Linked DNA regions of Homo sapiens: region 2 is linked to region 1. The links are contacts of gene promoters, found by promoter capture Hi-C in blood cells and fetal thymus (Javierre and others, 2016). All regions are on one chromosome and are shown on one strand. Each heading gives the region's core, a stretch centred on a gene start or on the middle of the fragment in contact. The rest is flanking DNA. Distances are from core to core; before and after follow the strand shown. Region 1 holds the start of RIOK2 (RIO kinase 2). Region 2 overlaps CHD1 (chromodomain helicase DNA binding protein 1).

Region 1 (4,232 bases), core at 1-2,500:
ATACTTGTAACAAAATTTCTCACGTACCCCATAAATTTGTACAAATAAAGTTAGTCACTTGGTTTTTTTAAAAACTTTTCGCCCAGGCGCGGTGGCTTATGCCTGTAATCCCAGCACTTTGGGAGACTGAGGGGGGCGGATCACCTGAGGCCAGGAGTTTGAAACCAGTCTGGTCAACAGGGCGAAACCCCATCTCTACTAAAAATAAAAATATTAGCAGGGCGTGGTGGTGTGAGCCTATAATCCCAGCTACTTAGGAGGCTGAGGGAGAAGAATCCCTTGAACCTAGAGGGCAGAGGTTGCAGTGAGCCAAGATCGCGCCCCTGTACTTCAGTCTGGGTGACAGAGCCGGGCTCTGTCTCAAAAATAAAAAAAAAATTCATTTCTATGCCTTCTTATGTAAGTACAGAAAGAAAAATTCCGTTTAAATGGAGATGTTCATTGGTTGAAGATGGTTAATCAAAGACATGCTGCATTCAAGTAAAAAGCAGACAAAGGCTTGAATATCGAGGAGTTGCAGAGCCAGTATGGGTAACTATTCTAAAATCCTTAAATCGCTCCTGGGCCCTCGAAGTCCTACCCGCGTAGGTCAGCCCGAACTATCAAAATCCCCACTTCCTCTGGAGGTAAGGACGTCCGCCGCGCTCTCCACGTGTCACCTTAAACTCCCACCCCAACCAGCGCAGGCGCACTTCGAAGCCTCCTAGACCAACCTAAGAGAAGTACTGAGCAAGCGCATGAGTTCCATTAACCACGCCCTCCGGAGCTGCCGGAGCAGGCGCAATTAGGAGTAGAGGGCGTGCTTGTGTGATTACAGTCCACTTTACCTTTAACAGATTTGGTTGTCTGGACTCTAGCTCAGGTTCTTTTACCCCTGTCTTGTTGGAAGTCACTTTGCCTAGAGTAGAAGTTGTTTGCGGGAAAAATTTGCTCCTCCCATTAAGTAACCACTTTGCTCTCTGAGGCGGAACGTGTCATTGAGGCAGCAAGTCCTGACAGATATGGAAAAAAAAAGGCACATTGTAGAGAATATCTACACTCCGCCAACTCAGTCACAACGCAAAAATTACACAAAAATAAAACGTTCACTTGTTACATACTATGTGTTTCATAAGACATACAAGTAGTTTTATTTTCCTATATCAATGAGAACAGCACTTCTAACTATTAACAAGGACCTATACTAAGACGCAGCGCGTGCGCGAGCCATCTGGCGCTGTAAAGCGCTTAGAGGCTGGAATAACGACCTGCCTTACGCTTTGCGGCTGTCGTCGGAGAGGCATCTGGGTTCGGACTGGGGCCGCCATGGGGAAAGTGAATGTGGCCAAGTTGCGTTACATGAGCCGAGATGACTTCAGGGTCTTGACCGCGGTAAGAAACCCGCCGTTCCTGTTCTCCCTTCCCCTTAACACTGTGTGACCTCTTCCTGTTCCTGCAAGTTTTCTGGGATCTGAGCAGGCACACTCTGGGACCCGGGACGTGGCAGAAGCTGGGAATGGAGAAGAGAGCATTCAGAAAGTCGGATTTTTAAAAAGGTTTTGTTTGGGAGCTTACCTTCCCCCAGATAGAGCAAAGGTCCCGTCTTCTAATAATTGTTTTCTTTTCTGCTGCTATTCGCTTTGCGCTGAAGAGAAACGCTTGCATCTCTGTGGCCTGGAAACTTCTCTGATCCTGAGCTTCCGACCAGCTGTGAAAGGTTTAAGCCCCCCCCCCCCCCCGAGATTTGATAATATTGACTTCCCTACTAACAGACTCAGTCGCATAGCAGTCTTTCTGATTCATTCAGTCAACACATATTTGTCGGTTTTTTAGTAGCAACATTAGGAGGTTCACTTGTTCAAACAGACAAGTGGAGAGAGAGACACAGATCATCAAGTAAACGAAAAATAGGATAATGGATAAATGCTATGAAAATGATAAAGGATAATGGCATAGAAAGTATATGTATCTGGTGGAGAGGAGGGGCACAAGTTATTGGCCTTTGGTAGACAATCAATAAATATTCACTAAATGAAAGAATGAATGGGGGAATAATAGGAGCTGTGTGAGAAAGAGACAGCCCAGTGAAGTCCTTGGAAAGAGTTGGAGGCAGAGGAAACAGCAGTAGTAAGTGCAAAGGCCTTGAGACAGAAAAGTCTTTGAAGAGAGGAAAGGCCAATGTAATGTGGCTGGAGCAAAGTGAGATGCACACTAATGGTTGGAGATGTAGCGGAAAAGGTGAGAAATTATGTACTACAGAGCCTTGGAGGTTTGGTAAAGAATGTGGGGGTAACCACTAAATGTTTTTAATCAGGGGAGTAACAAAATCTGATTTTATGGCCTCAGTCTTATGGCACAGAAATTAATATATAGATCAAGACATTTGTACATTTATTTAGGAGCCGTTATCTTTTGGTAAGGAGTGAACCCCATGATAAGGACTACCTATATTGTGTAATTATGTAATAGGATATGCGATGTGAGTCACACTGGTTCTTGCATTATGTTAAGGCTTCAAGTTTTGGATTTTTAAAATTAATCTTAAATAGCGCTTAAGTATTAAACTATCAAATGCAAAATCAGTGTGAAATTTGGAAGACAATGTTTACTTTGCCTCTCATGTAGATTCTTCTAATCAGCTGGACTTTCTCTATGAAAACCTACTATCACTTCGGAAAGATACCTTCCTTTCCTGCTTTCTCAGCACACTCATTCCTTAGTGTCTCTGACAGAAGTAGGGGTCAAAAGTAAGAGTGTTAGAGGACGGGGGAGGCAGAGACAAAGCATGGAAAATAAGTTAAATTTAAAAGTTAAGGTTTTGGTGAGACATCAAAATGATGCCAGATTTATCTTCCAAAACATTGGCGCTGCAATATTTAAATTATTTGTAAAGTTCACCAAGAAATGACTTAGTCATTAAATATGACATTCCGGTCTCAGTTGAATCTCACCAGTGTTGGTACCCTTTCTTGGGCCTCTCTTCCCTTTTACTTCTTTGGCTCCTCCTATATCAATAATCATTGTTTGACTAGCTGCCCTTAGCTTTCAATATGAACTTGCCCCAGAATTCTGCTCCCAAACATTCCTTTTCTTCCATTATCTCCTGCTCAGTGATAGCATCCACTTCACATCTTCAACTCTCACTTCTATAAAATAATTGACAATTTTTCCTTCTAATTATAACTTCATTCCTAAATATAGGCCCCTTTCCTATTTAATTTTCTCTCTTTCTTTTTTTTTTTTTTTTGAGACGGAGTCTTATTCTGTTGCCAGGCTGGAGTGCAGTGGCACAATCTCAGCTCACTGCAACCTTCACCTTCTGGGTTCAAGCGATTCTCCTGCCTCAGCCTCCCAAGTAGCTGGGACTATAGGCGCACACCACCACGCCCAGCTAATTTTTGTATTTTTAGTAGAGATGGGGTTTCACCATGTTGGCCAGAATGGTCTCGATCTCTTGACCTCGTGATCCACCCACCTTGGCCTCCCAAAGTGCTGGGATTACAGGTGTGAGCCACTGCACCTGGCCTCCAGTTTTCCTTTAAACATTTTTATTTGACTCTCAGTGCTCAAACCAAATTCAATTTTTTTCTACCCCCTTTCTCTTTTCCCAAGCTCTATAAAAAAAAAAAATAATAAAATCTTAAAACTTGCTTTTCCTCATCACTTCCAATTGTGGCTTTCCGTTCCCTTTACCCTTCCACATCTAATTGCCAAGCTCTCCCATAATACTTCCTAAAGATTTTTATTCCTTCCTTCCAGTACCACTACCACTTACCCTGTTCTGGTGGCTCTTTCCTCTGAGCTGGACTTCTGTCTTAGTTCTCCGGAGTACCCCCTCAGATTTTGCCATCTCTAAGCCAATTTGCATATTCCTGGTACATTAATGTCCTTAAAATAACCCTGTTCGTGTGTCTCCCACGCCTAAACATCTTCAAGAGCTTCCTGCTCTCATCAGGATAAAATATAAAAGTATTTGGTCTACATTTTAATGCCTTCTCTATCCTAGAAGTATCTTCCAGCCGCGTTTGCATGAATTCTATATGCTATCCCATCTGAGCTGCTACTGTACTCAGCTATTCTCTGTGGTCAGTACTTTCTTGCATATGTGCCATTTTCAAATCTTTTTCTTTCACTAATATCCCCTTGTCTGTTTTCTCTGTATGCCCACATCTTTTAAAAGTCAGTCTCTAGTTTTGCATCTTCCTTGGAACTGATCCCTCAGCTAGAAGTATTCTTATTCTGCCCTGAGCTAC
Region 2 (3,810 bases), core at 244-2,743, 1.7 Mb before region 1:
AGTGATCAAAACAGCAACTTGAATCCTCACGTGATTAGAAATCCAGGTATGTAAGCCTTACTGATTGGGAAAATAAATTAAAAAAAATTTTTTTTAAATTTTTGTTTTAAATAAACCAAATGATAAAAAAGGTTCTTACCTTGTTTTTATTTATAAGTACCTTTATATTAAGGAGATACAGTAATTCTGATACATACCTACATTATTATGTAAAATGTATTCTCTTAAACTGTAGTTCATTTTAGTTTATTATCCTTTTAATCATCCTTTTCTCAGTTTCTAGAAATTGTAGAATGACTGTTAAAATGAACAAATATTCTTTTTTATGTAATTTGGAATAGTAATGCATTCTTTCTGTATCAGAGTCACAAAAGTATAGTCTGAGAAAGGAATAGGTCCCATATTTTTTAGTTTTTGTGACATTTCAGAATCAAGCAACCTTTTTTAATTAATCCTTAGTACTGCTTTTATACACCATTTCTAAATGCTTTAACTGCTTGTATTTGGGAACCGATTTTGTTTTGGCAAGGGTTGAAACGAATTCTTGTTATCTATCAACTAAGTTTTTTTTGCCACATTATTTTTAAGGTCATTAATAAAAGTTGTACTTATCTAACAGATGTGGAAAGATTAAAAGAGAATACAAATCACGATGATAGCAGCAGGGACAGTTATTCCTCTGATAGACACTTAACTCAGTACCATGATCATCATAAAGACCGACATCAGGGAGATTCTTACAAAAAAAGTGATTCCAGGAAAAGACCCTATTCTTCTTTTAGTAATGGTAAAGACCATCGTGATTGGGATCACTACAAGCAAGACAGCAGGTAAACTTGGCAGTCACTTTAGAAATTTTGCTTATGCATGTTTTTCTCCTTATCATGATGTTCCTGTATTTGACCTGTCAGCCAATTCAATCTTCATGCAGTCAAAACAAATCTTGTGAAATAAAGGTGTTGTATATAATTAAGAAAAATGTATATATTTTAAGAACTGAATTTCTCTATAAAATGGATTTTGAATTATAAAATTGAGATCAAAATATGTAGTAAGGTGATGTAGGGAGTTGTATGATTATAAATTGCGTGGGGTTCATTGTTCGTTTTGAAGAATATTGGCTCAAATACTCTTTAAAATATAATAAGTGGGATAAAAGCTTGATATAATAGTGATTCAGGTTTGGTTTAGGAAATTTTGCATTCCATATTTTTAAAAAGTCGGGAAAAATTAATATATGTGAACACATCTCATTGAGGTAAAACTTAACCTCAGCAATCTGGAATATTATTGGAACCAGGAAGGTTTTTTGTTTATTGTTTTTTGAAGCCTTTGAACAGTAAGCAACCTCAGTGTAATAACATCAGAATACTTTTTATTCCTTTATTGATAAAGAAGTATTTTCGGTAGTTAATGATCACTACTAAAAGTAAACTTGAAAACTGAGATTTATAGTATTTATGCTTTTATAGTAAGTAGAAGAAACAAATTAGAAGACATCTTTGTATTTTAGTGTTCATTACAATAATTTCTTTGAGAACCTCTGTCAGCACTATGAACACATCAGTTGTAGAATGGCTGTTATTTGAAGGGGTCAAATAATTAAAAGGAAAAGGCAGATTTATAGTATATATTTCACAGGCTTATGCAATATAGTTACAGTTGTGTGTGTGTCAGTTTGGAAAAGGCACTCATTTTAGAGAATAATTCTCATTAAACTGCCACATTTATTTTTTATCAAGCTGTCACATGTTTGTATGGAGTAAATTTCGTAATGATTCATGTGTCGAGTCTTACTATATAACTAGTCAAACTTGAGGAAGCTTTTAATAGGCATCAGCAACCAGTGAAAAATTTTTCAGCATAGACTGCATTCTAGCATTTTTAAACTTTTTCCTGCTTAGAGGTTGGTAAAAGGCTCTGGTCTCAGGAGTATTTCAGATAGTTGTAATAATCTTAATTTCAGCTTCCAGACAATTAAGATGCAGTCATATAAATGATGTGTAAAATAAAAAGCAGCTAATTATCTAAAATAGCCATGTGAAATTAGATGCTATTTTAGGGGTTTTGTATGGTTCGCTTTAGTTTTATGAATCAAATAGTTTTTCCAAAGAGATATATCCAGTGATTTTTGAGTTAATTAAGTAAGTTTTATAATGCAACACTGAATTTCTATACAATTAAAAACATGTTTTAAGGTATTTTTATGTTTTTTAGTTATCTTTTATTTGGAAACATTTTAATTTGCATGATTTGTCTAAAATTCTCAATTTTTCTTTATTAGATATTACAGTGACAGAGAGAAACACAGAAAACTGGATGATCACAGGAGTAGAGATCACAGGTCAAATTTGGAAGGAAGTTTAAAAGATAGATCTCATTCTGATCATCGTTCTCACTCAGATCATCGGTTACATTCAGACCACCGGTCAAGTTCTGAATATACGCACCATAAATCTTCCAGGGATTATAGGTATCACTCAGACTGGCAAATGGACCACAGAGCTTCCAGCAGTGGCCCTAGGTCACCACTAGATCAGAGATCTCCTTATGGCTCCAGATCTCCATTTGAACATTCAGTTGAACACAAAAGTACACCGGAGCATACCTGGAGTAGTCGGAAAACATAACAAAAACTGATACTTCGTCTTTCTGGACTTTTCTTTTAGCCATATATCATAAACCAACACAGTAATTGCCTTACATGACTTGAAAGATATAAACAGATCTTCTATCAGTAGCAGTATTGTTACTTCTTTCCAGGATGCAAGGTCTATTATCCCAACAGAAGAGAAAATATTTTTATATTTAAGGATTATGCTGCACTGTACTACAAAATTGTAGTACTTTTTTTTGTTTTCTTTTTTAAAGAAATGGAAAATGTTTACTATTACAGGGACCTCAACACTGCCCTCCCATACAGGCTGGATAAAACTGTTTTTAAGTCAGTGATTTTAGACTGACCTCCATTTAAATTATGTTTATATATGAACTTTACTCTGACCTGTGATCATGTTTCAGGAAGGAATGAAAGAGAGTTCTTTCTTAATAAAGAAAAACACTCAAGGACTTTGTTCATTTCCAAAGCTACTTGTTTACATTGTACACTGCGACCACCTTGCCGCTTTTCATCACAAGCTTGAATATTTAAATTCTGTACTTATATCTGTAAAATAGCCAGGAATTTCCTGTTTGTGATCTATTATGCCTTTTTACAAAAAAAATGGCTGTAAATTATTGTAAATATTAAAGGAACTTTCCTTACTTCCTTCCCTTTCTCAGGCTTTTTTTGACTGTTCCTTTCCCTACCAACTCAGGCCTTCTTATTAAAAAAAAAAAAATCAGTGTAATAACACTTTTTAATGATTTGTCTTGATGGAATCATTGTTTAGAATGTAAAAATGGGGAAAGGGGCCACTTAATTCCATTAGTCCTCTTTTTATACTGAATATTTTATTAGATACATGTTATTCCCTTTTTTTTCCTTTTTTAGTCAATATTGTGTTTGTAGTTTTAAAAAATGGCGAGATATGTAAAATCTAAACTGCATGCTCTGGAAACACTTTTTTCAGATGCATCTGGTTTAAAAGGGTAGGTGTATAAACACTTTTCAGAATCCAAAACGGCCAAAAGTTATTGTAAATCCGTTTGTTTTCCCGTTTTATGTGGGCAATAATGTCAAATGTGCTATGCAGCCAGGTTAACATTTTAGATAAACTTGATTGACTTTTAATATAAACTGTTACAATGCACACTGATTGTATATAAAAACGTTATATATGACAAATTAAATTTAAGAAAAAGGATATG

The links. Contacts are between HindIII fragments. The CHiCAGO score rates a contact against its expected background, and 5 or more counts as called.
Region 2: a contact is called between a fragment that was not itself captured here and the fragment with the promoter of RIOK2 in region 1, in 1 of 17 cell types (naive CD4 T cells). The highest score is 6.3, in naive CD4 T cells.

The regions. Positions count from the first base shown.
Region 1 is chr5:97,180,265-97,184,496 of GRCh38, reverse strand. RIOK2 (RIO kinase 2) reads left to right here and starts at 1,250. Exons shown (of 10, transcript NM_018343.3): 1 at 1,250-1,371. The coding sequence starts at 1,306. The HindIII fragment of the contact is 13,556 bases long and covers 1-4,232 here.
Region 2 is chr5:98,855,200-98,859,009 of GRCh38, reverse strand. CHD1 (chromodomain helicase DNA binding protein 1) reads left to right here. Exons shown (of 36, transcript NM_001270.4): 34 at 1-46; 35 at 620-830; 36 at 2,285-3,810. The coding sequence ends at 2,630. Among named protein-coding and RNA genes, the nearest start is that of CHD1-DT, 71 kb to the left of the region's middle. The HindIII fragment of the contact is 664 bases long and covers 1,162-1,825 here.